Linked DNA regions of Homo sapiens: all the other regions are linked to region 5. The links are contacts of gene promoters, found by promoter capture Hi-C in blood cells and fetal thymus (Javierre and others, 2016). All regions are on one chromosome and are shown on one strand. Each heading gives the region's core, a stretch centred on a gene start or on the middle of the fragment in contact. The rest is flanking DNA. Distances are from core to core; before and after follow the strand shown. Region 1 has its middle 4.7 kb from the start of SARAF. Region 2 overlaps ERLIN2 (ER lipid raft associated 2). Region 3 overlaps RAB11FIP1 (RAB11 family interacting protein 1). Region 4 overlaps LINC01605 (long intergenic non-protein coding RNA 1605). Region 5 holds the start of RNF122 (ring finger protein 122).

Region 1 (6,002 bases), core at 2,842-5,341, 3.5 Mb after region 5:
ATTTAGAAAGTTTATTTTGCCAGGGTTGAAGACGCACCCTTGACACGCCTCAGCAGGTCTTGATGACCTGTGTCCAAAGTGGTTGGGGCACAGCTTGGTGTTATACATTTTAGGGAGACATGAGACATCAATAACTGTATATAAGGTGTACATTGGTTCGGTCTGCAAAGGCGGGACAACTCAAAGTGGGGAGGGGGTGTCCAGGTCATAGGTAGATAAGAGACAAATGGTTGCCTTATTTTGAGTTTCTTTTTCTTCCTTTCTTTTTTTTGAGACCAAGTCTCACTCTGTCACCCAAGCTGCAGGCTGGAGTACAGTGGTGCGATCTCGGCTCACTGCAACCTTCAACTTCTGGGCTCGAGCAATTCTCCTGCCTCAGCCTCCCGAATAGCTGAGATTACAGGTGCCCACCACCACACGTGGCTAATTTTTTTGTTCTTTTTTTTGAGGCTGGAGTGCTGTGGCACCATCTGTCTTCTGGATTCAAGTGATTCTCCTGCTTCAGCTTCCCAAGTAGCTGGGATTACAGGCATGTGCCACCACACCTGGCTAATTTTCGTATTTTTAGTTAGAGACGGGTTTAACCATGTTGGCCAAGCTGGTCTTGAACTCCTAAGCTCAAGTGATCCACTTGCCTCGGCCTCCCAAAGTGCTAGGATTATAGGCATGAGCCACCATGTCTGGCCTCTTCTGAGTTTCTGATTAGCCTTTCACTGAATACACAATTTACAGGTATAGTCACTTATGCTTTAGTCTGGGTTAGTGAAAAAACAGGGCAAAGGAAGCAATCAGATAAGCATTTGTCTCACAGTGAGCAAAGGATGACTTTGAGTTCTCTCTGTCCTTTGTCCACAAGGAATATCCTTGTGGGCAAATTGTGAGGTAGGTATGTAGCTTTATTTTTTTCATTTATTTTTATTATTATTTTTATCTTTGTAGCTATCTTATGTAGGATAAGATAGCTACAAAGATAAATTTCCCTTTTTTTTTTTTTTTGAGGCAGGGTTTTATCCTGTTGCCCAGGCTGCAGTGCAGTGGAGCAATCACAGTCATGGTAGCTTCCTGTCATGGCAGCCTCCACCTCCAGGGCTCAAGCTATCCTCCTGCCTCAGCCTCCCGAGTAGCTGGGACCACAGATATGCACCACCATGGCCCGCTAATTTTTTACTTTTTGTAGAGGCGGGGTTTTGCCATGTTGTCCAGGCTAGTTTTGAACTCTGGGACTCAAGAGATCCTCCCACTTTGGCCTCCCAAAGGGCTGGGATCACAGGTGTAAGCCACTACCCCCAGCCTGATTTGCTCTTTTCAGTACAAATGTGTTGGCATTACAGATGTCCTTGACAACATTCATGGGCAACTGGGATTACTCATCAGGTTACAGGAATCTACATTCTTTTCTTCCATGGTCACAGAATCCTGAGAGATTGTGCTCCTTATCTTTCCCATGAGATTCAGTGTTTCCAGCACAAAAACACTCATCACTCTAAGGACCATTTTTGGTTTACTGGTCTAGGGACCAGTTGTGTCCGGAATTGGTGGGTTCTTGGTTTCACTGACTTCAAGAATGAAGCTGTGGACCCTCACGGTGAGTGTTACAGTTCTTAAAGACGGTGGGTCCGGAATTTGTTCCTTCTGATGTTCGGACATGTCCGGAGTTTCTTCCTTCTGGTGGGTTCGTGGTCTCGCTGACTTCAGGAGTGAAGCCACAGACCTTCGCAGTGAGTGTTACAGCTCTTAAAGGTGGCGCGTCCAAAGCTATTCGTTCCTCCCGTCTGGAATTGTTTGTTCTTCCCAGTGGGTTCGTGGTCTCGCTGGCTTCAGGAATGAAGCCGCAGACCTTCGCTATGAGTGTTACAGCTCATAAAGGCAGCACAAATCCAAACAGTGAGCAGCAGCAGCATTTATTGCAAAAAGCAAAATAAGAAAGCTTCCACACCCAGGAAGGGGACCCCAGCGGATTGCCGCTGCTGCTCTGGTGGCCTTTCTTTATTCCCTTATCTGGCCCCACCCACATCCTGCTGATTGGTCCATTTTACAGAGAGCTGATTGGTCCGTTTTGACAGAGTGCTGATTGGTGCATTTACAAACCTTTAGCTACACAGAGTGCTGATTGGTGCGTTTACAATCCTTTAGCTAGACACAAAAGTTCTCCAAGTCCCCACCCGATTAGCTAGACACAGAGGCTGATTGTTGTGTTTACAAACCTTTAGCTAGACACAGAGTGCTGATTGGTGCATTTACAGCCCTTTAACTAGACAGAAAGCTCTCCAAGTCCCCACCGGTCCCAGAAGCCTAGCCGGCTTCACCTCTCACTGGCGCTCTTCGCGGGATTTTGCGGCACTTACCCCGGGTGCTCCAGTAGCCCAGAAGGAGCTTGTCCCAGACAACCAAGAGGAAAAGAGGGGAAGCGAGAAAGAGAGGGAGACCCGCCATTCTGGCCAACGACCCTGCGAAGAGGGAATGGCGGTGCACGCACGGGACCCAGCCTCTGATCAAGCCCAGCAGGCGCCGGCCAGCTGCGCTGAGTGCTGGGCCCGTGGAGCCCGCGCCCACCCGGAACCTGCGCCGGCCCGCGAGCGGTGAGCGCCGGGCGCAGCCCCGGGTTCCGCCCGCGCCTCTCCCTCCACACTTCTCCGGGAGAGGAGGGAGCCGGCTCCGGCCTCGGCCAGCCCCAGAGAGGGACCCCCACAGCGCAGCGGCAGGCTGAAGGGCTCCTCCAGCGCGGCCAGAGCGGACGTCCTGGCTGAGGAGGCGCCGAGAGTGAGCGAGGGCTGCTAGCACGTTGTCACCTCTCACAGTCACTTGAGACCTTAAAAACAGTGTGTCTAAATGTTGTATTTCAAGGACCACCTAAAGCAGAATACTTTGGGATGCCTTCCAAATTCTTGACTGCTACTCCCGACCTTCTGAATTTAGAACTCTTGTGGGTAAAGCCCGGAATCTGAAAAGTTAACAAGAATCTCAAACAATTCCTGTGCAAACTAAAGCAAAGCTTGAAAGTCATTGTCGGAAAAAAGGTAGAATGTCAGTTTTCTCCACCAGTTTTCCAAGGGAACCCTAAATGCTAGTTAATGTCATATCCTTTAAATGTTCTCTATTGTTATGTAATAGCTAATTAGTGTTACCTTTCAGTTTCAATACTTCTTATATGGATGGTTTTCCATTCTCCAAAGTTAAATGGTGGAGATGAGAATGTGGATGAGAGGAAGGGAATTCTTACTTTTTCAGCAGGTGCTATTTGCCTGGTGCTTTAGCATTCATCTCATTTAATCCTCTTCACAATTTTGTAAACTGAGAATTACTAACTCTTACAGGTTGATTCAGAGAAAGCTCAGAGGAAAAAAAATCTTTTTTTGGGTCAGGGTCTCACTCTTGTCACCCAGGCTGGAGTGCAGTGGTGTGATTTCGGCTCATTGTAACCTCTGCCTCCCAGGCTCAAGCTATCCTCCTGCCTCAGCCTCCCGAGTAGCTGGGACCACGGGCATGCACCACTATGCCTGGCTAATTTTTTTTTTTTTTTTTTTTTGTAGAGACAAGGTCTTCTTACGTTGCCCAGGCTGGTCTCGAACTCCTGGGCTCAAGTGATACACCCACCTCGGGCCTCCAAAAGTGCTGGGATTACAGGTGTTAGCCACCGCACCCAGCCCCTCCTGTATACTTTAAATAATCTCTAAATTATTTATAATACCTAATAACAATGTAAATACTATGTAAATAGTTGTTATACTGTATTGTTTACAGACACCAAAAAGTCAGTCACCAGAAAGACCATGTGATTAGAGTGTTAGAGGGTTGGAAATTTCAGCCCACCCACCAACCAACAGGAGAGATCGGGGGCGGGTGGCTGGAGATTAAGCTCTATACAAACTCTTAGACAACAAGATTTCATGAGCTTCTAGGTTGCTGAATACAGGGAGGTGCTGGGAGGGTGGAGTGCCCAGCGAGGGCATGGAAGCCCCATGGCCTTCTTATCTTTGCCCTATCCATCTCTTCATCTGGCTGTTCATCTGTATCCTTTATAAATCCTTTACAATAAACTGGTAAACATAAAATATTTTCCTGGACTGACGTCTGAATTGGGGCAGTCTTGTGGGAGACTGGGCCCTTAACTTGAATTGAGTTATAGGACATCGTGTTGATGTCCTTTAGAGTTGGTTGGTGTGTAGGGAAATACTCCCCCAGCCCCTCTTCTGGTCACAGAACTGCTCTGTGTTTTGTGCCAGTAGAAAGGAGAAAACAGTTTGTTTTTTCCTTTTACAGCCTCATCATTTAGCTCTCAGCTCAAATGGTAATTTCTCAGAGAATCTTTTCTGGGCCATCCTACTTGTTATGGCACTACCTGTCATATTGCTCTGTTTTCTTCTTCAAGGTACTTATTATTATTTGAGATAGAGTCTTGCTCTGTTGCCCAGGCTGGAGTGCAGTGATGCAGTCATGGCTTGCTGCAGCCTCAACCTCCAGGGCTCAAGTGATCCTCCCACCTCAGCCTCTTGAGTGGCTGGGACTACAGGCACATGCCACCACATCTGGCTATTTTTTTTTTTTTTTTGAGACGGAGTCTCACTCTTTCGCCCAGGCTGGAGTGCAGTGGTGCGATCTTGGCTCACTGCAAGCTCCGCCTCTCGGGTTCACACCATTCTCCTGCCTCAGCCTCCTGAGTAGCTGGGACTTAGGCACCCGCCACCATGCCCAGCTAATTTTTTGTATTTTTAGTAGAGACGGGGTTTCACTGTGTTAGCCAAGATGGTCTCGATCTCCTGACTTCATGATCTGCCTACCTCGGCCTCCCAAAGTGCTGGGATTACAGGCGTGAGCCACTGTGCCTGGCCACATCTGGCTAATTTTTTAAAAACAATTTTTTGTGGAGATGGGGTCTTACTATGTTGCCCAGATTGGCCTCAAACTCCTGGTCTCAAGTGATCCTGAGCCTCGGCTTCCCAGAGTGCTGAGATTACAGGTGTGAGCCACCGTGCCTGGCCCAAAGCACTTATTTATTTGAAATGACATGATTTGTTGGCTACCTCTCCCACTAGAATGTTTATTATAACAACCTTTCATCTTTTGTTCATGACTGTCCAGAACTGTACATGGTACATGGTGGGAATCTAAAATAACAAACATTCTCTTGTTAAGGTAATTAGTGATTTCTACATTGCAAAATTCAGAGACCAAATTTTGCTTCAAGCTTTCAGCAACAGTGGACACTGTTGACCATTCTTTCTTTCTCTCAATTACCATATCCTATTGTCCTAGTTCTTCCTCCTTCTTCACCAGAGGTTACTTCTCAGATTCTTTCTAGAATCTTCTGCTTGAGGTTCAAATGTTAGTGTTTCCATAGCCTGGGCCTCCTTTTTTGTGGTATCTCAATTCTCTCATGTTACTGTGTCTCTTCCCACATGTCTTAGTTCATTTTGTGTTGCTATAACAGAATACCTGAGACTGGGAAATTTATAAAGTATAGAGATTTATTTCTTATGGTTCTGGAGGCTGGGAAATCCTAGGTCCAGGGGCCTGCATCTGGTGGGGAGCTTCCTGCTGTGTCATTTCACGGTGGTAGGCAAAAGAGAAAGGGAGCTGAACTCATCCCTTTTATCGGGAACCCACTCCCCAATAACTAACCCACTCCTGTGATAATAGCATTAAGAGCTCTGCCCTCATAACCTAATCACCCCTTAAGAGTCCCCCCTCTCAACACTATTGCTTTGGGGAATAAGTTTCCAACACATGAGCTTTGGGGGACACATTCAAACAATAGCATCATGACATTAAATGCTATCTTTATATTTACAACATAACTACCAAATTTACCTTAGTTTTGAACTTCAGACTTTTACAGTTTATCTATTTATTTGACACGTCTACCTGGATGCCTAATAGTCACCTCAAACTTAACATGTTGAGCATAGATTCTCTATTATCTCTTATTTCAGTCCTTGGTCCCAGCATTGGTTGGTTCCATGCCGAGGCCCCACTGCTCTGCCATCTCTTATTCCACTCTTCCC
Region 2 (5,656 bases), core at 1,395-3,894, 4.2 Mb before region 5:
GGCACTGACCAACTTTGGAGCAGAAGTAGCTAAGGCAAGGGGGAGAGCCAACTGCTGAGAGTACACTCCCACCGCTCCAAGGCCCTGCTAGCCTGGGAACTCCAAGAAAGCAGGGTCTACGGGACTTCCTTTTTCTCATGCCTAACAAAATCCTGGGCACATACTGGCACTCCAGCCACATTTGCTGAATGAACAAATGCTCTCTGAAGTAGAAAACAGATGCTAGCCTGGCCACAATAGCCTCAAAACTCAAGTCTCCACATGGAGAAAAGCTGCTGTTGCACAGAGATCATGACATCCTTGAGCACAGTTAAAGGGCAAAGGCAATGGCTCCCCAACCCACTGGCCACAGGGCGGGGTCTGAGGAGGACTCAGGCATGACTGCCACTTCTGCTTACCTTCAATTTCTGAAATCTTCTTCTCAGTCTCCTTCTCCATCACCTTCTGCCCGTAGGTGATCTCAGCCACCTGGGCCACTTTTTCTGCCTCTGAATAAATGATAGTGAGGATTACGGTTCTGGCATTTCAGAGTTTGACTAATTTCACCTTTCACCCGAGCTGAGTGTCCTGGTGGGCCAGCTTGTCTGGAGAGCCCCCAGAGGGCAGCTGTGAGTGCACACAAGGGCAGAGTGGGATATGCCAGTGAGCACAGTCCCCTTCCATCAGTGTGAGACAGTAACCAAGGAGACCTGGGCCCAACATAGGAAGCATGAGCCCTAACTTCACAAGGGAACTTCTCCCAAAGGAATATTCTGTAAGAATGAAGTACTCTAGTAGGGTTCTACCTGGCCCTTCACTGTAGACAGGGGTCAGGTTAGTTGTTGATAATACGGTGCAGTGACTTAGAACATAGCTTCTAGAGCCAGTGTCCTTGGTTTGAACCCCAGTTCCACCCCTTACTTGCCATATGCCCTTGGGCATGGTATTTTACCCCTCTGTGCTTTGGTTCGATAAAATGAGGTTAAGGATAATACAGTACCTACCTCCACAGTGGTTGTGAGGGTTGACTTAACCCACATATTAAGTGGTTAGAAAAGTATGTGGCTCACAGTAATTGCTTAATTAAGTATTAGCCATTATTATTAAGAATTAACAGGCTGGGCACGGTGGCTCACGTCTGTAATCCCAGCACTTTGGGAGGCTGAGGTGGGCAGATCATGAGGTCAAGTGTTCGAGGCCAGCTTGGCCAACATGGTGACACCCCATCTCTACTAAAAATACAAAAATTAGCCAGGCGTGCCGGCACCCGCTGTAATCCCAGCTACTCAGGAGGCTGAGACAGGAGAATCACTTGAACCTGAGGCAGAGGCTGCAGTAAGCTGAGATCGTGCCACTGCATTCTAGCCTGGGTGACAGAGCAAGACTCCGTCTCAAAAGAAAAAAAAAAGAAAGAATTAACAGGTGGGGCTTCTTTCATTTAAGAGTTAAGTGGAAACTCAAAAAACTCATTATCCTTGGCCATGATCTGACAATTTCAACTTTGTTTCTGGGAGTCCACCTGCCACTCCTGTGCTGTGGAAGTGGTTTGGAGGACCATGGGGTCTCACCAGGCCTTAGCCTCCTTGCATCTTCCCACCACCCCCAGCCTTTCTGCCTGGAAAGGGGGATCACAGAACCACATTCAGACCAATGAGCGCCTTCTTCCGCTCTGTCTCTGCTTCCTTTTCCACCACCTTCTGTTTCTGGGCGGCAATGAGAAGCTTTGTCTTCTCACTTTCCCTGAAGAGAAGAAAAAGCCGTGAGGCAGCTATGGAAAACTCAGGAGCTTCACTATCCCCAGGTAAGTCGAATTCTTCTGCTGAAGAGAGGCAAACTCCCATTTCCTACTCCTCCTGGAAGGCTGTTCGATGGCCCAGGTAAAAGCTGATCTGTTGTTGACAGTAACATAGCTCTTCTCCTCCCAAGTAACTCATTTGTGGGAAATAAAACATAATTTAGTAAAATACACCTGCCTGTCCACTTACTGGTCTCTTGCTCCTGTCTCCACCTTGGGCATGAGTCACTGAACACAAACAAGGCCCCCTGGCCCTTTTCAAAACATCGCTGCTCTACAGGGATTATCCTGGGGTTCTCAATCACAGGTAGGGAGCCCCAGTGGTGGCCCTGACACGCCTGCCCAATCTTACAGTGCAATGGGCTGTAGCAAATCCTCCAGCAAGGGGATAACCGAGAAGCCTGGCAGCTTTGGTTACCTCTGGGATGGGACGAGGTGGGAGGTGGGAGGCAGTGGTGGTCACAGCCCAGGCGGAGGGTATACTCACATCAACTCGTAGTTTCTGCGGATTGCCTCTGGTATGTTGGGCTTTGTTACCCGCACAGCCTGGAGAGAGATTAAAACAGCAGCTGATGGGAAAGTGAGGGTAGTGAGGGACACACCCAGCTCCCACTGGGCCTTGATCTTCCTGCACAAAAAGGACATCCCTTGGGAGAAGGGAAGCAGTGTCAGAGAGAGAGGGGCTGCTCCCATGCAGCAATGCTTACTTGAATGACCAGCCCAGGGGCCATGGAGGTCAGGTCCTGTTGCAAAGCCAGTTTGAGATTTTCATCAATCTGATCTGGAATAAAGAAAAGATGGAGAAAAAGGAGTTGTTACACTTTCTAGATGAGGGAGGGCAGGATGAGGTAAAGTGCAAGCTCAATCACCAGCTCAAGAATGTACTTTCCCAAGGGAGTGTGCTTATCAAAGCCCACAAATCTAAAGATCCCCTGCCCAACTTCTGAAGCAGCCTGTGCAGGCAGCCCTCTACATGGTGAACGCAAGGGCATTTTCTTTCTGTGCCTCAAGATAAAACTCAACCTTTGTTCTGAAAATACTAACCATGCCCTACAGGGGGTGAGAGCTTAAAAAGAAAAAAAAGGAAGAACAAACAATTCTAGCACATTTCTTGCGTGAGGCAGCAGCCTTTCCCTAGACAATAGCAGCAAAAGAGAAGGAAGGTTCACAGTTTCCAAGAAGAAGGAAGGTGGAATGGCTATTTAGGTTTTGTGGAAAGAGCTGAGCACATTAAATCTAGTAATTTTAGAAGTTTCTAAAAGAAAAACAGACTTTGACGTCAAGGAGAGCCCCAAGGAAGACTGTTTCTATTAGGAACTCCATCAAACAACACAAAGGGAAAATTAAAATTTACAGTTCTGGAAGCGAGCCCCAGGCTTTTGATGTGCTGTTTGCTTTGGTCCTGATTTCTTTGTCTGGAATCCACATGAGTTGTTTCACAGACAAATGTAGGAACAGCTGTAACTGACTCTCCCCCCACCTTCCTTTCCAGCTGCAATCTCAGAACAGCAGTACCAAAGCTGACTTCTCTGGCATGGGCTTCTCAGGTTTTAGAATCCTCTTCCTTGCCTTCTGCCCATGATATCCTTGATAAGATCCCGGAGGGGCTTAGAGAAAAAGACAGAGTGAAATCAGGCTGGGACTTGTACACTGCATCTCTCCTTTGCTGTCAGCCGCCATCTGCTTTAAGTGGTCCTTTCGTGGTCACCTGTGCTCAAATAAGAGCCTCTGAGGAAGAGAAAGTCTCCGCTCTTTCACTGATGCCAAAACGGAGGCCCATGAAAGCTGGCTAGTAGCAAAAATAACAAGCTTGTTTAACTGGTGGGCCTTGATTGTTAGGATTTTAAGACAGTAGTATCAGTAAACAAGGGACGGTAACGTTTCCACATATAGGATGTGCTCTCACAAGCCTCTGAGCACCGAAGGAGAAATGCCATCAAGTCGGCACCTCACACCTGCCAGGGGTCAACCAATTTAACAACTAGAACTAAATATTACATTTCATATTTTAAGTAATTTTAAGTAGAATACCAACCAAACTTTAAATGGCCCGTATCCTCCATAAGTTAATAACGTCATTCCTCAGACCAAATTATATCTGTCAAGGTGGAAACCTGTGGCCCTGGGCTAGTAGCTTACCGGAAAAATGTGAAAGAAATACTTTTCAAGTTGTTTTAGTAATATTGATGTTTATATGTTATGGAAATGTTGATAAATGCCATTTAAATTGTATTACTAAGGTAGCCGCAGGGAAAAGGCGCAAGGCGCGCTCGTGACGTCATTTCGGCGCGACCCTCTTCTTTGCGTAGAGTTTTTCAGGTTGCTCCTGGAAACCATGCCGAAAGTAGTGTCTCGGTCAGTAGTCTGCTCTGACACTCGGGACCGGGAGGAATATGACGACGGCGAGAAGCCCCTCCATGTGTACTACTGTTTGTGCGGCCAGGTGGTCCTAGTGCTGGACTGTCAGTTAGAGAAATTGCCCATGAGGCCCCGGGACCGGTCCCGTGTGATTGATGCTGCCAAACATGCCCATAAGTTTTGTAACACAGAAGACGAAGAGACTATGTATCTGCGGAGACCTGAAGGCATTGAACTACAGTACAGAAAGAAATGTGCAAAGTGTGGACTGCTGCTCTTCTACCAATCCCAGCCGAAGAATGCTCCCGTTACCTTCATTGTGGATGGAGCAGTCGTCAAGTTTGGCCAGGGCTTTGGGAAAACGAACATATATACTCAGAAACAAGAGCCTCCTAAGAAGGTGATGATGACCAAACGGACCAAAGACATGGGCAAGTTCAGTTCTGTCACTGTGTCTACCATTGATGAAGAGGAAGAGGAGATTGAGGCTAGGGAAGTTGCTGACTCGTATGCACAGAATGCCAAAGTGATTGAAAAACAGCTGGAGCGCAAAGGCATGAGCAAGAGGCCACTGCAAGAGCTGGCTGAATGGGAAGCCAAGAAAGTGAAAATGAAGGGGACCTTGATTGACAACCAGTTCAAATAACCAGGCTTTTTTTCTGAGCCCTAGACTGGAGGCAAGCATTTAGATCAGGAGACAAAGTAACTTCTTGATTACATAGACTGGTTCCTATTTATATCCCAGCAGAAGGCTTTATGTTGTTTCCCATTGATTCTCCTACATGCAGTGAGGTCTTTAACTGAGTCCATTTGACCTGCTTTCTAGGAGATGGATTTTTCTCTAATTTTTTTTCTGTATTTAGATTTTCTTTACTATTTTTTGTCCATTTGATGCAAACTTCTTCAGCTGTGTAGAAACTTTATGAATAGATAAGTGCTTGAGTGTCTCTGGTCTCTAAAGTGGCTGGTTTTATTCTTTCTTCAAAGTTAATAACATGTTTCAAGATTTTTGGACAAAATATTATGGTACGTCATAGAGAAAAGCAGCGTGAATTATATTTAGGTATAGCAAGTCAGATCCTTTGAAGTGACTCTGTCTCTGTTCTTAGAAGGGTTCTTGGAATTGGTTGTGGTTTGAATCTTTCTACTGTCAGAGGAGACCCACTAAAAACCAGAATCTGCATAAAGCTTTCTTTACTTAACACACTGAAGCTATAGGTGAGCCATCCCATGTCAGACTTTATACTCAAAGAAGGAAAAGCCAAGTTGCAGTGAGCGGGTAAGACAGCTCAGATCCGAATGAAAATGGGGTCTGAATAAGTAACCCAAGGGAGCTGCCCTCTAGTCGGGCAGCTAGTATTGCTTCCTTGCATGGATACATAGGAGGGATACATTATAGATTAATAAATGATAGTGAGATAAACAAAATGATCTGTTGTGTATCTTTTACTTTACATTTGCTATTTACAGAGGAGTGTTGTATACATAGGTATTATTTTATGTCACACTGCTTCAGTGATAACT
Region 3 (5,356 bases), core at 693-3,192, 4.3 Mb before region 5:
GTGTTTGGTCTCCCGCAAGAAAGAATTCAGGGCAAGTCTGCAGTGCAAAGTAAAAGCAAGTTTATTAAGAAAGCAAAGTATTGAAGGTACAGCTACTCCATAGACAGAGTAGGACGTTCCCGAAAGTAAGAGGAGGAACACCTCCACTCTAGGCACTATGCTTATTCATACACAGGATAAAAAGATCATTGAGAGATGTGCCCTACTACAAGGGTTTGTGATAAAGGATTAATTTTCTTAATTACTATATTTTGTGAGAATCAATATTATTAGCTTCAAAGCAAAATTAGGATAGCCTTTGTTCTCCAGATTTGGGGATATTAGAACACTCCCAAGTCTGGGTCTGTTTGGTAAACATTATCCATCTGTTCCCTTACCCATAAACATCTAGAGGCTAGGAATACCTAACTTTCTGGGAATGCAGCGCAGCAAGTCCCAGCCTCATTTTCCTAGCCCTCACTCAAGATGGAGTTGCACTGGTTTGAATGCCTCTGACAGCTGCTTTGGAGGCCTGTCACATTTGTGCATCCCCGTGGAGGGCTAATAGAAGGGCCCGTGTGGAAGAGCTGTGGAGAAACCCCTGCCTGAAGCTCCTGCCCTGGGCGGGGAGGTGAAGCGTGCTGCCCGCCTGCGGTTGGTGAGGTCATCGAAACCTCCTCAGTTAGCGTTCAGCAACTTCTCCTTTTCAGGTGCCTGCAACTGGTATTTACAAAAGCTAAACACCCTTCATCACCAAGGCTACCATTTACCACATGACTGTCAGAAGAGAAAAATATAAATAATCCTCTCAAAATTGAAGTGACAAATATGCAGACAATTCCAGGCCAGGCCCTGGAAAATGTATTGGACAGACACTAGGCTGGCAAGGGTGACATTGTCTATAAAGACCTTGCATTTTCCACTTGAGCCCAGGAGTCCAGGGCTGCAGTGAGCTATGATCGCACCACTGCACTCCAGCCTGGGCAAGAGAGTGAGACCCTGTTGCAAAAAATAAAAAATAAAAAAAGACCTTGCGTCTTGCAACACCCACCACTCCCCGCCTGCCCAGCTCTGGATTGAGGTTATAAAAACCATAAAAGATTTGTCTCCTAAGGGTCCAAAATTATAGCTCATATAATTTTATCCTCTCCTTGCTGTATTTTGTGAATTCATTTTAAGTTCTTCTTGATGACTTTGTATACTGGCCTTTAAGTAATCTCAACGATTTATGACTGATGGCAAGCTATGTTAGTTTCCTTCCTTTCTTCTTTCATCTTTGGACATTTAAATGAGAAGCTTAAATGTTTCTCAAAAAGAATTTAAATTTGAACCCTCTTTTCTCTATGTTACAAAAGATGGCCCATCCAAGATAAATTAGGAGAGAATTTAAAGCAGGAGTCTTGGTGTAGGGGAAAGAATAGGAGAAAGAATAGGGGAAACTGATTTGGAATCCTAGCTGTACCCCATAGTGGTTGCAAGACCTTGTGCCAGTTCTCAGACCTCTGAGCTTCAATTTCTTCATCTATAAAATGGGTATAATATCTACTCCGTGTCGTTCTTGTGAGGCTGAAATGAAGATGTCTCTGTGCGTAGGCAGTGTCAGGTATGCCACAGGTGCTGTTTAGGTGTTAGGTTTCGACTTTCCCCTGTGCCTTTCCTCTAAGTGTAGAAGGAGCCGTAGCAGTGGGGGCAGGGATCTGCCCTGTGAGCGAGCCACCAGCCATGGCTGAAGGTGAAAGAGGAAGTTGTGCTCATTTGGGCAAAACCATCATTTCCTTTAAGTCCACTACCTTCCGCTCTTAAATAGGTCACCGAAAAGAACTTCAGAATGTGAGTTCTCAGTTTGTGAGGGTGACCTGGTGGACAGCTCACTATAGACCAGGTATTTGGAGTTATTTGTCCCATTGTATGGTCTTGCTACAAACTGGGCTCACATTTTTTTTTTTTTTTTTTGAAAGGGATAGGGTCTCACTCTGTTGCGCAGGCTGGAGTGCAGTGGTGCAATCATAGCTCTTACTACAGCCTTGAACTCCTGGGTTCAAGTGATCCTCCTGCCTCAACCTCCCAAGTAGTTGGGACTATTAAGTACGCACCACTGCACCCAGCTAATTAAAAAAAAATATTTTTAGCCACGCTTGGTGGCTTATGCCTGTAATCCCAGCACTTTGGGAGGCCAAGGTGGGTGGATCACTTGAGGTCAGGAGTTTGAGACCAGCCTGTCTAACCATACCCTGTCTCTACTAAAAATACAAAGAATAGCTGGGCATTGTGGCATATACCTGTAGTCCCAGCTACTCGGGAGGCTGAGGCAGGAGAATCACTTGAACCCGGGAGGCGGAGGTTGCAGTGAGCCGAGATCGCGCCATTGCACTCCAGCCTGGGGGACAGAGCGAGACTCTGTCTCAAAAAAACAAAAATTTTTTTTTTGGAGAATGGGATCTTGCCTTGTTGCCTATACTGGTCTCAAACTCCTGGATCCAACCAATCCTCCTCTCTCAGACTCCCAAAGCACTGGGATTACAGGTGTGAGCCACTGTACCCAACCTGGCTCACATTCTTACAGTTCACCAAAGGTATAGGGCTCCTAAATGGAAAATGAATGCCATGAGATCTCCTTTTTCTGAAGCTTGTCTCTCAGTGGAGTTGGACTGGTATAATGTCATTTTTCACATCTTGAAGTGGGTTGCAAATGACCAAGTGTAATTCTTGGATAGTGTTTGAAATGTGACTTTTTCTGATTATTAAGCTAGGGAAGAAGGCTTCCTTTCCAACTAACCATTTTTTTTATTGTGGTAAAATATATGTAACATTAAATTTACCATTTTAACCTGTTTTTTTGAGACAGAGTCTCACTCTGTCACCCAGGCTGGAGTGCAGTAGTGTGATCTTGGCTCACTACAACCTCCCTCTCCCGGGTTCAAGCGATTCTCCTGCCTCAGCCTCTAGAGTAGCTGAAATTACAGGCATGTGGCACAACACCCGGCTATTTTTTGTATTTTTAGTAGAGATGGGGTTTCACCATGTTGGTCAGGCTGGTCACAAACTCCTGACCTCAAGTGATCTGCCCGCCTTGGCCTCCCAAAGTGCTGGGATTACGGGCGTGAGCCACTGCGCCTGGCCCCATTTTAACCATTTTTAAGTGTGCAGTTCAATGTCATTAAGAATATTCACATTGTTGTGTGATCATCACCGCCATCCATCTCCGGAACTTTTTCATTTTCCACAACTGAAGCTCTATACCCATCAAACATTAACTCCTCATTCTCTCCTTCCCCTCCTCCGGCAATCACCATTCTACTTTCTGACTGGATGAATTTGACTAACCCAGGAACCTCACATAAGTGGACTCATATAGTGTTTGTCATTTTCTAACTGACTGATTTCACTTTTTTTTTTGTTTTTTTTGAGATGGAGTCTGGCTCTGTCGCCTAAGCTGGAGTGCTGGAGTGCAGTGGCATGATCTTGGCTCACTGCAACCTCCGCCTCCCGGGTTCAAGCAATTCTCCTGCTTCAACCTCCTGCATAGCTGGGATTACAGGTGCTCGCCATGATGCCCGGCTAATTTTTGTATTTTTAGTAGAGACGGGGTTTCGCCATGTTGGCCAGGCTGGTCTTGAGTTCCTGACCTCAGGTGATCTGCCTGCCTCGGCCTCCCAAAGTACTGGTATCACAGGCGTGAGCCACTGTGCCTAGCCTGATTTCACTCTTTTAAAAAATTCTTTATTTTTATTTATTTATTTTTAGAAACAGAGTCTCACTTTGTCACCCAGACTAGAGTGCAGTGGTGCAATTATAGCTCACTGCAGCCTCGAATTCCTAGGCTCATGTTGAGTAGCTGAGAGTATAGGCGCACACCACCATGCCGGCAAATTTTTTAATTTTTTATGGAGATGGAGTCTCGCAATATTGCCCAGGCTGGTCTTGAACTCCTGGCCTCAAGTGATCCTCCTGCCTCAGGCTCCCAAATCTCTGGGATTACAGGTGTGAGCCACCATGCCCAACCCCCTCCCCACTTTTTTTTTTTTTTTAATTCTGTGTTGTATTATTATTATTTTTTTACTCCCTGGCAGGGACCATTCCTTACTACAAACTTGATTTTCTCTGAGATTTAATTATACATCATTTGCACGCCACCCTTCTTAACTGTTTGTGTATGATCTTTGCTTTTTTTTTTTTTTTTTTTTTTTGAGATGGAGTCTCACTCTGTTGTCCAGGCTGGAGTGCAGTGGTGCGATCTCGGCTCACTGCAACGTCTGCCTCCTGGGTTCAAGTGATTCTCCTGCCACGGTCTCCTGAGTAGCTGGGACCACAGGCGCCTGCCACCACACCCGGCTAATTTTTTATATTTTTAGTAGAGATGGGGTTTCACCATATTGGCCAGGCTGGTCTCGAACTCCTGACCTTGTGATCCACCCACCTCAGCCTCCCAAAGTGCTGGGATTACAGGTGTGAGCCACCGCACCTGCCCTGATCTTTACATTTTTACCCTACTGAAGGAAAACATCACTCATCGGAAGTGATTCCATGGAATATTTTTTTTTCTTTATTTTTAGAATGAGCTCTTTATTGAATCAGGATTTGAGGTGATTATACGCTAAGCACAACACTGGATCCTATCTTTGTCTAGCGCGTGTCTTCTCAAAAATAAAAGTGCAAAATAAAAAACAAAACAAAAGAAATAAAAGTGCAAATTCTGCTCTCAGCCGGGTGCAGTGGCTCACGCCTGTAATCCCAACATTTTGGGAGGCTGAGGCGGGCGGATCATCTGAGGTCAGGAGTTCGAGTCCAGCCTGGCTACCATGGTGAAACCCCATCTCTACTAAAAATACAAAAATTAGCTGGACATGGTCACGCGCTCCTGTAATCTCAGCTACTCAGGAGGCTGAGGCAGGAGAATCACTTGAACCCAGGAGGCAGAGGCTGCAGTGAGCCGAGATGGTGGCATTGCACTCCAGCCTGGGTGACAGAGCAAGACTCTGTGTCAAAAAAAAAAAAAAAAAAAAAAAAAAAAATTCTGCTCTCATCTACCACTTCCCGAAGAGAAAGCATGAGAATGCATGCATTGAAGAGGCTGCTGGTAGCAGAGAGGAGAGGCCAGTTCATGGGGATTGTGAACATTGTTGCAGTTGCTTCCATTCAAAGGTAACTCCTCAGCCTTTCTCCTTTCAGGTGGTATAAGTTGAAATCCAAACCAGGAAAGAAGGACAAGGAGCGAGGAGAAATTGAGGTTGACATCCAGTTTATGAGAAACAACATGACTGCCAGCATGTTTGACCTTTCTATGAAAGACAAGTCTCGGAATCCATTTGGAAAGCTGAAGGACAAGATCAAGGGGAAGAATAAGGACAGTGGGTCAGACACCGCCTCCGCCATCATC
Region 4 (5,378 bases), core at 1,944-4,443, 4.0 Mb before region 5:
TGGTGCACGGCAAGAGAGTTTGCAGAAGTAATTAGGGTTACCCTTAAGATTACCTTAAAACTGGGAGATTATCTTGGTGGGCCCCACCGAAACTTGTCAGCCCCTGCAAAGCAGAATGCTTTCTCCAGATGGTGCCAAAAAAGGACATCAGAGATGTCTGAAGTTCGAGAAGGGTTTCGTGTGAGGTGGGGTTCTCTGTTGCTGAGGTGGAGGGAGCCATGGGGCCAGGACCTGAAAGCTCAAGGCTTTTAAGAGCGGAGAGCAGTCCCTGCCCAACAGCCAGGAAGGAAACAGGGACTTCAGTCCTACAAGGAACAAAATTCTGCCAATAATGGGACTGAGCTTGGAAGAGGATCTCAAGCTCCAGTGAGAATGCAGCCAGTTGATACCTTGGTTTCAGGCTTGGAAAGCCCAGAGCAGGGAACCCAGCTACACCATTCTAGACTTCTGACCTACAGAACTTTGAGATAATAAATGGGTACTGTTTTAAGTTGCTAAGTGCATAGTGATTTGCTCTGCATAGAAAACCAATGCAGATTTTGTTACCTGGAAGTGGGGGGTGCTGCTACAACAAACCCCAAAATGTGGGTGCAGCTTTGGAATTGGGCAGTGAAAGAATTTTGAGAAGATGATAGAAAAAGCATACATTACTTTGGCTAGGCTGTTAGAAACATGACGTTCATTGGCTCAGAAGGAAGTGAGGAGCATTTGAGAGAAATCCTAAGTCACCTTGGAAAAAGCCTAAATCACTGGGAACAGACTGTTAGCCAAAATCTGGTGACGAGGAAGATGTTATTAAAAGTATTGGAACAGAGGTTGCCAAATGGTGATTTTCTAATTTTATCATTTCTTCTGCACTTAGAGTTGGAATTCTATACAGAAGTGCTTTCCAAACTAAAAATAGAACTACCATTTGATCCAGTAATCCCACTACTGGGTATCTACCCAAAGGGAAAGCAATTATTATATCATAAAGATACCTGCACTTGTATGTCTGTTGCAGCACTATTCACAATAGCAAAGTCATGGAATCCACTTATATGTCCATCAGTGGATGATTGGATCACATAATGTGGTATATATAAAATGGAATACTACTCAGCCATGAAAAAGCATGAAATCATGTCTTTTGCAGCAACATGGACAGAAGTGGAGGCCATTATCCTCAGTGAAATAACTCAGAAACAGAAAGTCAAATACTACCTATTCTCACTTATAAGTGGGAGCTGAACAATGTGTATACATGAACATATAGAGAATAATAATAGAAACTGGAAACTCCAAAAGGTGAGAGGTGGGTGAGGGTTGAAAATTACCTATTGGGTATGATGTTCCCTGTTTGGGTGATGAGTACACTGCAAGCCCAGGCACCATCACTATGCAATATATGCATGTAAGAAATCTGCACTTGTACCCCTAAATCTTTAAAAATAAATAAAAAAAGAAGTGGGGTGAGAGGAGGGCGAAAGATGTTACTGGAAAGAGGTTTCAATCCAGACCCCAAGAGGGTTCTTGGATCTCGCACAAGAAAGAATTTGAGGTGAATCCATAAAGTGAAAGCAAGTTTATTAAGGAAGAAAAGAAAGGAAAAGAATGGCTACTCTGTAGGCAGAGCAGCCCCGAGGGCTGCTGGTTGCCCAGTTTTATAGTTGTTTCTTGATTATATGCTAAACGAGGGGTGGATTATTCATGAGTTTTCTGGGAAAGGGGTGGGCAATTCCCAGAACTGAGGGTTCCTTCCCTTTTTAGACCACATAGGGTAACTCTCTGATGTTGCCATGGCATCTGTACATTGCTATGACCCTGGTGGGAGTGTCTCTTAGCATGCAAATGCATTATGATTAACACATAATGAGCAGTGAGGCTGACCACACTCTTGTCGCCATCTTGCTTTTGGTGGGTTTTGCCCGGCTTCTTTACTGCAACCTGTTTTTATCAGCAGGGTCTTTATGACCTGTATCTTGTGCTGACCGCCTATCTAATTCTGTGACTTGGAATGCCTTAGCCTCCTGGGAATGCAGCCCAGTAGGTCTCAGCCTCATTTTACCCAGCATCTATTCAAGATGGAGGTGCTCTGGTTCAGAAGCCTCTGACAAGAGGGTCAGAAAAAACTACCTATCGTATGCTATGCTTATTACCAGTGGGACAAAATAATCTTACATGAAACCCTCGTGACGTTCAGTTTACCTATATAACAAACCTGTGCATGTATCTCTGGACTTAAAAGTTTACAAAAAAAAAGAAGTGCTTTCCTCACCAACTCTTTGGTTAGCTTGATATATAGCTCATGTAGGAAAGGCAGTATGTTTGGTTCTTTTTATTTATCATTTTTCAACAATTTTATGCTGTTATGCCAATCAAATTTGTCAATCATACCTTAATAAGACTGAAAAAAGTAGAAAAAAAAATCGCTAAGTCCCAGTGAATTGATAGGTCACAGAGTGTCAGAGCCAAGATTTGAACCTAAGCTTTCTGATGGTTTAGCCTGTGGTCTTAACCACTACATCCCATTCCCTCCCAGAAAGAGGAAAATGGTTGTGAGATAATGCTAAGTGAATAAGATAGAATATAAAAATGTATCTCTACAAATCTATGGTCTATTTATAGATGCATAGAAAAAGACGGAAGGAAATACACTCCAAGTTTCACAGTGGTTACCCCTGAAAAGTTTAAAAACAAAAAGTAGCCACAGCACTTGCGTTCACCGGTTTCTGTTCCTCTTAGAGGCTGCTGAGACTCCACAGAAAGTATTGAGTCTTTTTTGCATGATCATGAAGAGCAAGTTTCTTGTTTCTAAAGGTCGCCGTAGTCTTGCTCTTGAATGCTGGTAACTGCCACTGGGGGAGAAGGGATGTGTCCTTCTCTAAGGGGAGAGGGGACGCATCGGCCCCCTCCTCCTTACTTCAAAGTTTTCTATGTACTTCCCATGGGTACAATATGATGTAGTATGGTGGGAAAGAGTGTGTGCACATTTTTGCTTAGTCCTTAGAACAATACCTGGCTCATAGTTAGTGCAAAAGTGTTAGCTATTAACATCTGTAAAATGTAATAATGGTAGATGATTTATTGTGTTGTAATTGAGATGAAATGAGTGCCTCTATGTTAAATACTCACTTTAGACCAGAGCCAGGTCACACACTCCTGGCTGTGTGACCTTGGACAAGTTACTTAACCTCTTTGTGCCTCAGTTTACTCATCTCTGACTTGGGGAGAGTTATAATACTGACCTTTATAGAGTTTTGGAAGGTTAATGCAAGTAAGATACTTAGCACAAGAAGTACTCAACCCATGCTAGTTATTCTTATTCAAGAAAGCCTGGAAGAGTCATTGGCTTCAGATAGTTTTGTAGTTACGTGAATTTAAGTGAGACCCTCTTTCTCCAGGTGCTATGAGGATTGCGGGCAAGCCCAGTCTCTGCCTCCTTGACACATATTTTTCTCCATCCAATTTACCTTGGCACGAAGGATAATTCATGGGTATGTTCACATCCTGGTCCTCAACATAAATCTTCCCTCCCCATGCACTTGGTGACAGCTCCGTAGGTCTCCTAGAGTTTCTTCTCTGAGTTTCTCATTAATGTAGCCTACACAAAGAAAGGCCTTGGGGTGCCTGCATTTCCCTGAAACCATCCTCCTTCCCAGAAAGGCAGGCAGGGGTGAGGGACAGGGGTGGGGCTGAAGAAGAGAGGGCAGTGGGAGAAAGGCCATCCCTAGCACAATGTGACTTTGAGATTCGGGGCTGGGGTCTTTGGCAGCTGCCTGTCATAGAAGCTGGGAGGCACTAGCACTGCTTCCCAGCAGGGCTGGCTGCACACCTGCACCACCCCCTGGAAGTCAGGAGAAGGGAGTCTTTTCTACAGCTATGAGTGAAACTTGTTCTGGCCCTGGGGAGGAGGTGAGTGATTATTTGTGAAGCTTGTTTCTTGGTTTGATTTTCTTCTTGAGCATCACGTTTGCTTCCTTTTTAAAAAACCAAACAAGTGCATGCTGCTCAGCCATTTCCGTCCATTCCCAGCCTTGATAATCTGTCAGACTGGCTCCTGTAAAACACTTCTTTCCTCTTTTTTTTGAGACAGGATCTCTGTCGCCAGGCTGGCGTGCAGTGGCGCTATCTTGGCTCAATGCAACCTCCGCCTCCTGGATTCAAGCGATTCTCGCTCTTTGGCCTACCAAGTAGCTGGGATTACAGGCGCCCACCACCACGTCCAACTAATTTTTGTATTTTTAGTAGAGATGGGGTTTCACCATGTTGGCCAGGCTGGTCTCGAACTCCTGACCCCAGGTGATTCGCCCGCTTCAGCCTCCCAAAGTGCTGGGATTCAGGCATGAGCCACCGAGCCCGGCCCCTAAAATGCCTCTTTCTTTTGGGTCTTGCCAAAGCCCAGATTCTCCATTGGGATCGCCAGAAGTGATGGCACTCATTCTATTTCTGTCACAAATGTTTGGATCAGAAGCCACAGTGAAAAAGAGAAAGCAATCCTCCAGGAAATGTTCTTCATTTCGGGACATCACTTGAGGTGTGTTGGGAATGTCAGGAAAGTTTCCCCATTCATTCATTTCATTCCCTTATTTATTCATGGCTTTGAGAAATACTTAGTGATTCTTTTAAATAATGTTCTTCGAACTTTTAAAATACCAGAACTCCTGTCTATTTAATAAAATCTTAGTGAAACCCAGTAGATGAGGGTCTGAACTGAAATTCAGAGGGAGTCGGTGGGTCACCTGAGGCATCCACGTTAGTGAATGGGGAAATAACTCCTATCCCAACATTCGCATTTCTAACCCTTAGGTCGAATATGCTCCGGCTGTTCGGTGCATTTATAGCGAAGTACAGGCAGTCTGGAACTTACAAATGAGTTCTGTTCCAAAAGTTCATTTGAAAGTCAGTTGCCTGGAACTTGGAATACATTTGCCTGTGGAAATCGGGGTATAGATGGTAGTGAAGTTCCCAGCCCAGCCCAGTAATGCCTATTTGATTCACAATATGTCGGAATTATAGAACTAATAACTCTCTATCAGCTTTGTGTTATTCTTTTTTCTTTTTTTTTTTGAGATGGAGTTTTGCTTTTGTTGCCCAGGCTGGAGTGCAGTGGTGCAGTCTCAGCTCACTGCAACCTTTGCCTCCTGGGTTCAAGCGATTCTCCTGCCTCAGCCTCCCTAGTAGCTGGGACTACTGGCATGCGCCACCACGCCCAGCTAATTTTCATATTTTTAGTAGAGACGGGGTTCCACCATGTTGGTCAGGTTGGTCTCGAACTCCTGACCTCAGGTGGTCCACCTGCCTTGGCCTCCCAAAGTGCTGGGATTACAGGTGTGAGCCAGCGCGTCCAGTGAGCTTTGTGTTATTAATAGTACTGCAGAAACCATGTATTTACTGCC
Region 5 (5,691 bases), core at 350-2,849:
TAGTCTCATTCTGTCGCCCAGGCTGGAGTGCAGTGGCACAATCACAGCTCACTGCAGCTGCATCCTCGACTTCTCGAACTCCAGTGATTCTCCCACCTCAGCCACCAGAGTAGCTGGGACCGCAGGTGCGCACCACCAGGCCCAGCTAATTTTTGTATTTTTTTTACAGGTGGCTTCACCATGTTGCCCAGGATGGTCTCAAACTCTTGAGCTCAAGCAATCTGCCCGCCTCAGCCTCCCGAAGTTTTGAGATTATAGGAGTGAGTCTAGACTGAAACATTTTGAATGCCACACTCTAGTTTACAGAACTTTATTCAGTAAACACTGGAGACCAACAAACGTTATCAAGCAAAGAAATGTTCAGATTTACATTTTACAGAGATAATTGTGACCAGAAGGGATGGACTTGAGAGTGAAATCAGAGCACTGTTTCTTTCAATAGCCGCATGAGAATTTGAGGGGTGGGGAAGACAAGGCACATTAAAATGAAAATTTCTGGGTCCACCCTTTATTGAATCAGAATCTCTGGGTTCAAGGCCTGGGAATCTGCATGTTACATCTCAAACATAGGAGTGATTCTTGTAGGCTCTGAAGTCTGAGCTATAGACTAGAATCAGAATGGCCAGTTAGGAAGCTTTTGCAATTATCCAATTAAGAAATGAAATGTCCTGGGTGCCATGGCTCATGCCTGTAATCCCAGCAATCTGGGAGGCTCAGGCGGGAGGATCACTTGAGTCCAGGAGTTCGAGACCAGCCTGAGCAACATAGTGAGGCCACTCATCTATACAAAACAATTAAAAAGTAGCTGGGCTTGGTGGCAGGCACCTGTGGTCCCAGTTTCTTGGGAGGCTAAGGTGGCAGGACTGCTTGGGCCCAGAAGTTGGAGGCTGCAGTAAGCTATTATTGCACCGCTGCACTCCAGCTGAGTGACAGAGCAAGACTCTAACTCAAAAAAGAAAAAGAGGGCCGGGAGCGGTGGCTCACGCCTATAATCCCAGCACTTTGGAAGGCTGAAGCAGGAGGATCACTTGAGGCCAGGAGTTCGAGAACAGCCTGTCCAACATGGCGAAACCCCGTCGCTATTAAAAATACAAAAATTATCTGGGCATGGTGGTAAGCGCCTGTAATCCCAGCTACTCAGGAGGCTGAGGCAGGAGAATCACCTGAACCCGAGAGGCAGAGGTTGCAGTGAGCTGAGATCGCGCCGCTGCACTCCAGCCTTGGCGATAGAGGCAGACTCTGCCTCCAAATACATAAGTAAATAAATAACAGATCTGTAGGCGGAAAACAATGTGGCAGTAATTGTTCCTTTGCCTTGGTGTCCCTGGGCAAAAGGCAGGCCCCCACTCCGGGGCATCGCTCGTCGCCGCTCCATTCTCTGCAGACCGAAGTTTCCCCAGGCCTGGGAAGACTAAGTGGGAGGCGCCCACCGTGCGAAGATCCTCCCGGCTTCCAGGGAAGGGAGGCTGGGCCTGCAAATAATAGCCGGGGGCAGGAGAAAGGCTCCGATTGGTCGGAGGGAGGGTGACGAACAAGGGGCGGAGTTTTCCTGGGGACTGGTGGGGGAAGTAAAAGGGAGGGGGTGTGCACCGCCGGGTGTCAGTTTCGGAACCCCAGCCAGCTCACCTCTGCGCCGCTGAACCCGATCCGAGCCTCCGGCAAAGGTTTTTCCCTCCTCCCCCGGCCGAGGGCTTCTGCAGCCCGGGCACCCCCGCCCCGCGGCGCCCCACATTCCCCCAGCCCGGGGCCCTTGGCGCGTGCGCTCCGTGCGGCTGTGCTCCGCGGGACTTTGTTTGTTTCCTCCTCGTCCCTCTTTGTTGGGCTGAACACCAGCCTCGTCAAAGCCCCCCACTCCGGAGGGAGTTCGGCTTCTCCAGCAGGGCGGCTGCAGCGCGCTGCCCCGACCCCGCCTGCGGCCCCTCACGCCGCTAGTGCTCCCACCCCGCCCTCCTGGCACCCCGCCTGCGTCCGTTCGCCCGAGGAAGCCAACCGCGACTTCATTGATGCACCCATTCCAGTGGTGTAACGGTGAGTCCCCGGGGCGAGGGCCGAGCCTACGTGGGGCTGGTGGGAGCCGCGGCGCGGGGTGCGAGGTCGGACAGCAGCGCGCTGGTCCTCCCTCGGGAACCAAGTTTCTCCTGAAATGGGACAGTCGAGAAGGCGTCTTGGCGCCCCACTCTGCTCTGCACAGCGCGGAATTTGAAACTATCCAGGTTTCACTCCAGAGCCTGGAAGGGGCCTCCGGACTGGCGGCGGGCCGGGGGCGTGGGAGCCGAGGGGTTCCCGGCCTTTGTGTGGCGGCCCGGCTCTTCTACCCCCTTCCCCTGCCTTTGTGCGCTCAAACTCTGTTCTTTGTTGTGGTTGTTGGAGGAGAATTAAATCCGCACTCGGGCTGGGATCTCCTAGAGGGAGCTCAAGTTCCCGGCCTGAAACTTTGCAGGCTATTGTAAATATGTATACCGTGCAGCGTGCGGGACTGGGCGCGGGGGTAGCTTCCTCTGGCTTTGTTGGTTTCCCACGGGCTGCTGGCGTGGCTTGGGTGCTTGCGGAAGACTGGATTAAAGAGTCGCTTTCGGCCAGGCGCGGTGGCTCACGCCTGTAATCCCAGCACTTTGGGAGGCCGAGGCGGGCGGATCACCTGAAGTCGGGAGTTCGAGACCAGCCTAACCAACATGGAGAAACTCCGTCTCTACTAAAAATACAAAATTAGCCGGGAGTGGTGGCGCATGCCTGTAAGCCCAGCTACTTGGGAGGCTGAGGCAGGAGAATCGCTTGAACCCAGGAGGCGGAGATTGCAGTGAGCCTAGATCGTGCCATTACACTCCAGCCTGGGCAACAAGAGCGAAACTCCATCTAAAAAAAAGCCGTTTTCCTGAGTTGATAAACCCTCGCAGAGAGCTCCGCGCCCGGCTGTCCCTGGGGTGCGAGGCTGGCCTGGCGGGAGCCGTGTTTCTGGCCACAAGGCCAGATTAGGGTGTCTGCTCCTGAGCCCAAGTGAAGGCCACACCTCCAGACGCGACAACCCCTCGCCCCATTTCTCCCCAGGCCTGGGTGATGCTTCTAAGTTAGTTCATTTCACCTGAGGCTTTTTGGAGGTTCAGGTGATACTGGGTTAGGCTGGAGTCTGATTCCTCAGCGAGCTACCTGAAAGGTAGGTGTTTCTGAGCGGGACACTTCAAAACCTTGGATACTAATCGCCCCCCACCCCACCCGCTCCAGTCCTCCTGGGGTCCTAGTCTTGACCGCGTTGTTCCGATGCTTGGAGAGTTTCTGGGAGAGAGAGATGGGAAGCAGCTGGCCTTATCTCTCAGTATGGCAAGCGAGCTAGTTACAGGGGGAAAAAAATCATTCTTTAGAGTAGACTCCTGCCAGATCTTGGATTAATTATGTCAAGAGGCTTTGTTTTGAGGCAGGGTTTGGGTAGCATGTATACCCCACATCCCCCCACCCCGCCTTCCTCCTTTTGCTGGTCGGATCTCATTTCCTGAAAATGAACCAAGCCGTGTGTGATAGGCGGTTTTGTGGGAGAGGGGGCAGAGGATGGGGGTTGAGGAAGGCCCTTGCACCCTAGCATCTGGGAAAGATTCCCGTTGGCTGGGAAAGAGAAGCAGTTCCCAGATCCCCTGGTCTTTCTTGGCCAGCCCTTGTCTGACGTCATTCCTGCTCCCAGCCTGCCAGATGAGATGAGACATTCTGATGTCAGTGCTTTCATAGGTTGGCCGAGACAATGGAACAGAGACTTAGGGAGAAATGAGGCAGCTGTCAGTAACACTGCCCTTTCTGGGCAGCGCCCTTTCATATCAGATTTTAGACTTGCTGCTTTATTTTTTTTATTTTTTATTTTTTATTTTTTTGAGACTGAGTTTCGCTCTTGTTGTCCAGGCTGGAGTGCAATGGTGTGATCTCGGCTCACCACAACCTCCGCCTCCCGGGTTCAAGCGGTTCTCCTGCCTCAGCTTCCCGAGTACCTGGGATTACAGGCATGTGCCACCATGGCCGGCTAATTTTGTATTTTTAGTAGAGAGGGGGTTTCTCCATGTTGTTCAGACTGGTCTTGAACTTTTGACCTCAGGTGATCTGCCCACCTCAGCCTCCCAAAGTGCTGGGATTACAGGCGTGAGCCACTGCGCCCAGCCTACTTTAATTTTTTTTTTGAGAGAGGGTCTCACTCCGACAACCATGCTGGAGTGCAGTGGCACGATCAGGGCTCACTGCGGCCTCCAACTCCCAGGCTGAAGGGATCCTCCTGCCTCAGCCTCCCAGCATAGCTGGAACCACAGGTGTGTGCAACCATACCTGGCTACTGGCTAATTTTTAATTAATTAATTAATTAATCTACTTTTTGGGGATAGGGTTTCACTACATTGCCTATGCTGGTCTTGAACTCCTGGGCTCAAGCAGTCCTCCCACCACGGACTCTCAAAATGCTGGAATTACCTGCAGGAGCCACCTTGTCTGGCCCTCTTTGCACTTCTTAGAAAAGTGACTGAGAGATCCTGTCCTTTGACTCCTGTGAAGAAGCAACCCTTCCCTCACCCCTTCAGAAACTACCTGGAGCCCCTCTTTCCTGGGGCTGGTATTCTCTGTCCTTATACAGTTTTAAAGAAAAACTTACTACAGTGTCAGCTTTTGACCAGTAGACTATTTTGCCATTTCTTTAATAGTAACACAAGCAAATGAACCATCTCCTCTTGACTATGCTCTTCCCACCGACCTCTTTATCACGTGAAATACCAAGCTCACTGATTCAATCAGTGGGAGATAAAGGGGAAGCCTTTATCAGGCAGGATAAGTTGGTGGGGATAAACTGATCAGAGGACTTGCGGGGACCATCGTGCTTGTGGAGTGCACAGATATCCTCTGTAATAGCTCTGACCAGGTTCTGCAAGTTCCCAGAACTGGAAACCAAAGGAGGTTTCAGCTCATAAAAGGTGCCTGGAAGAACTAAGGAAACGGGGGGTTAGACCCTCTTGTAACATCAAATAGTGCGGGGGAAGGAGGTGAGAAAACAGCTGGGAGCACCAGGTCTTGTTGGAAGGGAAGTCCTGAGCCCCTTTTCCAGCATAGACTGAAGTTTGTCACTCTAGCCAGTCTGCCATGATGTCCTCATGGAAAATTGTTCTTCTTTGACCCACAGAAAGTAAATATTTGGGTGGGGACTGGTGGTGAAAAGCACTTTCTCTCTAACCCCTACTAGAGCCTAGACACAAGGAACTTCCTGTTGGGCACAGCAAAGTTTAGTAGCTAATTATTTCTTTCATTTCAACTTAATCAAAAAGTCTTTCACAACAAGAACTTCTACTTTCTGTTTTCCCACAATGTGTAGGTCAGTGCATAAAGCAAGCCCTCAATAATACTTGCTGGTTGACTGGTGATCCATTAGCGGAGGGCAGTTTCTGGGCAATTTTCCCAAACATCAGTCCTGCTGCTTTGAAGTGGGAGGTTTTGCCAAGGGGACCAGGTTATTTTAAGAAAATGGGGAATTATTTATCTGTTAACTAGTTATTGAGAACAAGCCAAACTCTAGGCTAGGCCGGACACTGGAGAATATACAAAAGTCCAAGTTGGAGTCAGCAAACCTAGGAGGGTTCAGGCTTTTTTTTTTTTTTCTTTTTTTCTTGAGTCTCACTCTGTCGCCCAGGCTGGGGCACAGTGGCGCCATCTCAGCTCACTGCAGCCTCTGCCTCAGCT

What was found. The method cuts DNA at HindIII sites, captures the fragments that hold promoters and counts their contacts. A CHiCAGO score of 5 or more calls a contact.
Region 1: a fragment that was not itself captured here is called in contact with the fragment with the promoter of RNF122 in region 5 in 1 of 17 cell types (M0 macrophages); the score reaches 6.2 in M0 macrophages.
Region 2: a fragment that was not itself captured here is called in contact with the fragment with the promoter of RNF122 in region 5 in 1 of 17 cell types (M2 macrophages); the score reaches 7.5 in M2 macrophages.
Region 3: a contact is called between a fragment that was not itself captured here and the fragment with the promoter of RNF122 in region 5, in 1 of 17 cell types (M0 macrophages). The highest score is 6.2, in M0 macrophages.
Region 4: a fragment that was not itself captured here is called in contact with the fragment with the promoter of RNF122 in region 5 in 1 of 17 cell types (M0 macrophages); the score reaches 6.5 in M0 macrophages.

The regions. Positions count from the first base shown.
Region 1 is chr8:30,084,763-30,090,764 of GRCh38, reverse strand. No RefSeq gene overlaps it. Among named protein-coding and RNA genes, the nearest start is that of SARAF, 4.7 kb to the right of the region's middle. The HindIII fragment of the contact is 2,193 bases long and covers 2,995-5,187 here.
Region 2 is chr8:37,746,458-37,752,113 of GRCh38, reverse strand. ERLIN2 (ER lipid raft associated 2) reads right to left here. Exons shown (of 12, transcript NM_007175.8): 7 at 2,482-2,555; 8 at 2,262-2,320; 9 at 1,628-1,719; 10 at 399-488. It also overlaps the pseudogene LOC728024. Among named protein-coding and RNA genes, the nearest start is that of ERLIN2, 13 kb to the right of the region's middle. The HindIII fragment of the contact is 1,883 bases long and covers 1,703-3,585 here.
Region 3 is chr8:37,877,344-37,882,699 of GRCh38, reverse strand. RAB11FIP1 (RAB11 family interacting protein 1) reads left to right here. Exons shown (of 6, transcript NM_001002814.3): 2 at 5,149-5,356. Among named protein-coding and RNA genes, the nearest start is that of RAB11FIP1, 19 kb to the left of the region's middle. RefSeq lists enhancers at 766-875, 1,273-1,986, 1,987-2,701. The HindIII fragment of the contact is 1,330 bases long and covers 1,278-2,607 here.
Region 4 is chr8:37,571,838-37,577,215 of GRCh38, reverse strand. All of the region lies in intron 1 of LINC01605 (long intergenic non-protein coding RNA 1605), which reads left to right. Among named protein-coding and RNA genes, the nearest start is that of LINC01605, 25 kb to the left of the region's middle. RefSeq lists an enhancer at 2,441-2,490. The HindIII fragment of the contact is 1,446 bases long and covers 2,471-3,916 here.
Region 5 is chr8:33,563,036-33,568,726 of GRCh38, reverse strand. RNF122 (ring finger protein 122) reads left to right here and starts at 1,599. Exons shown (of 6, transcript NM_024787.3): 1 at 1,599-2,028. The coding sequence starts at 2,004. RefSeq lists silencers at 1,715-1,834, 1,885-1,954, 1,985-2,034, 2,175-2,224. The HindIII fragment of the contact is 8,620 bases long and covers 637-5,691 here.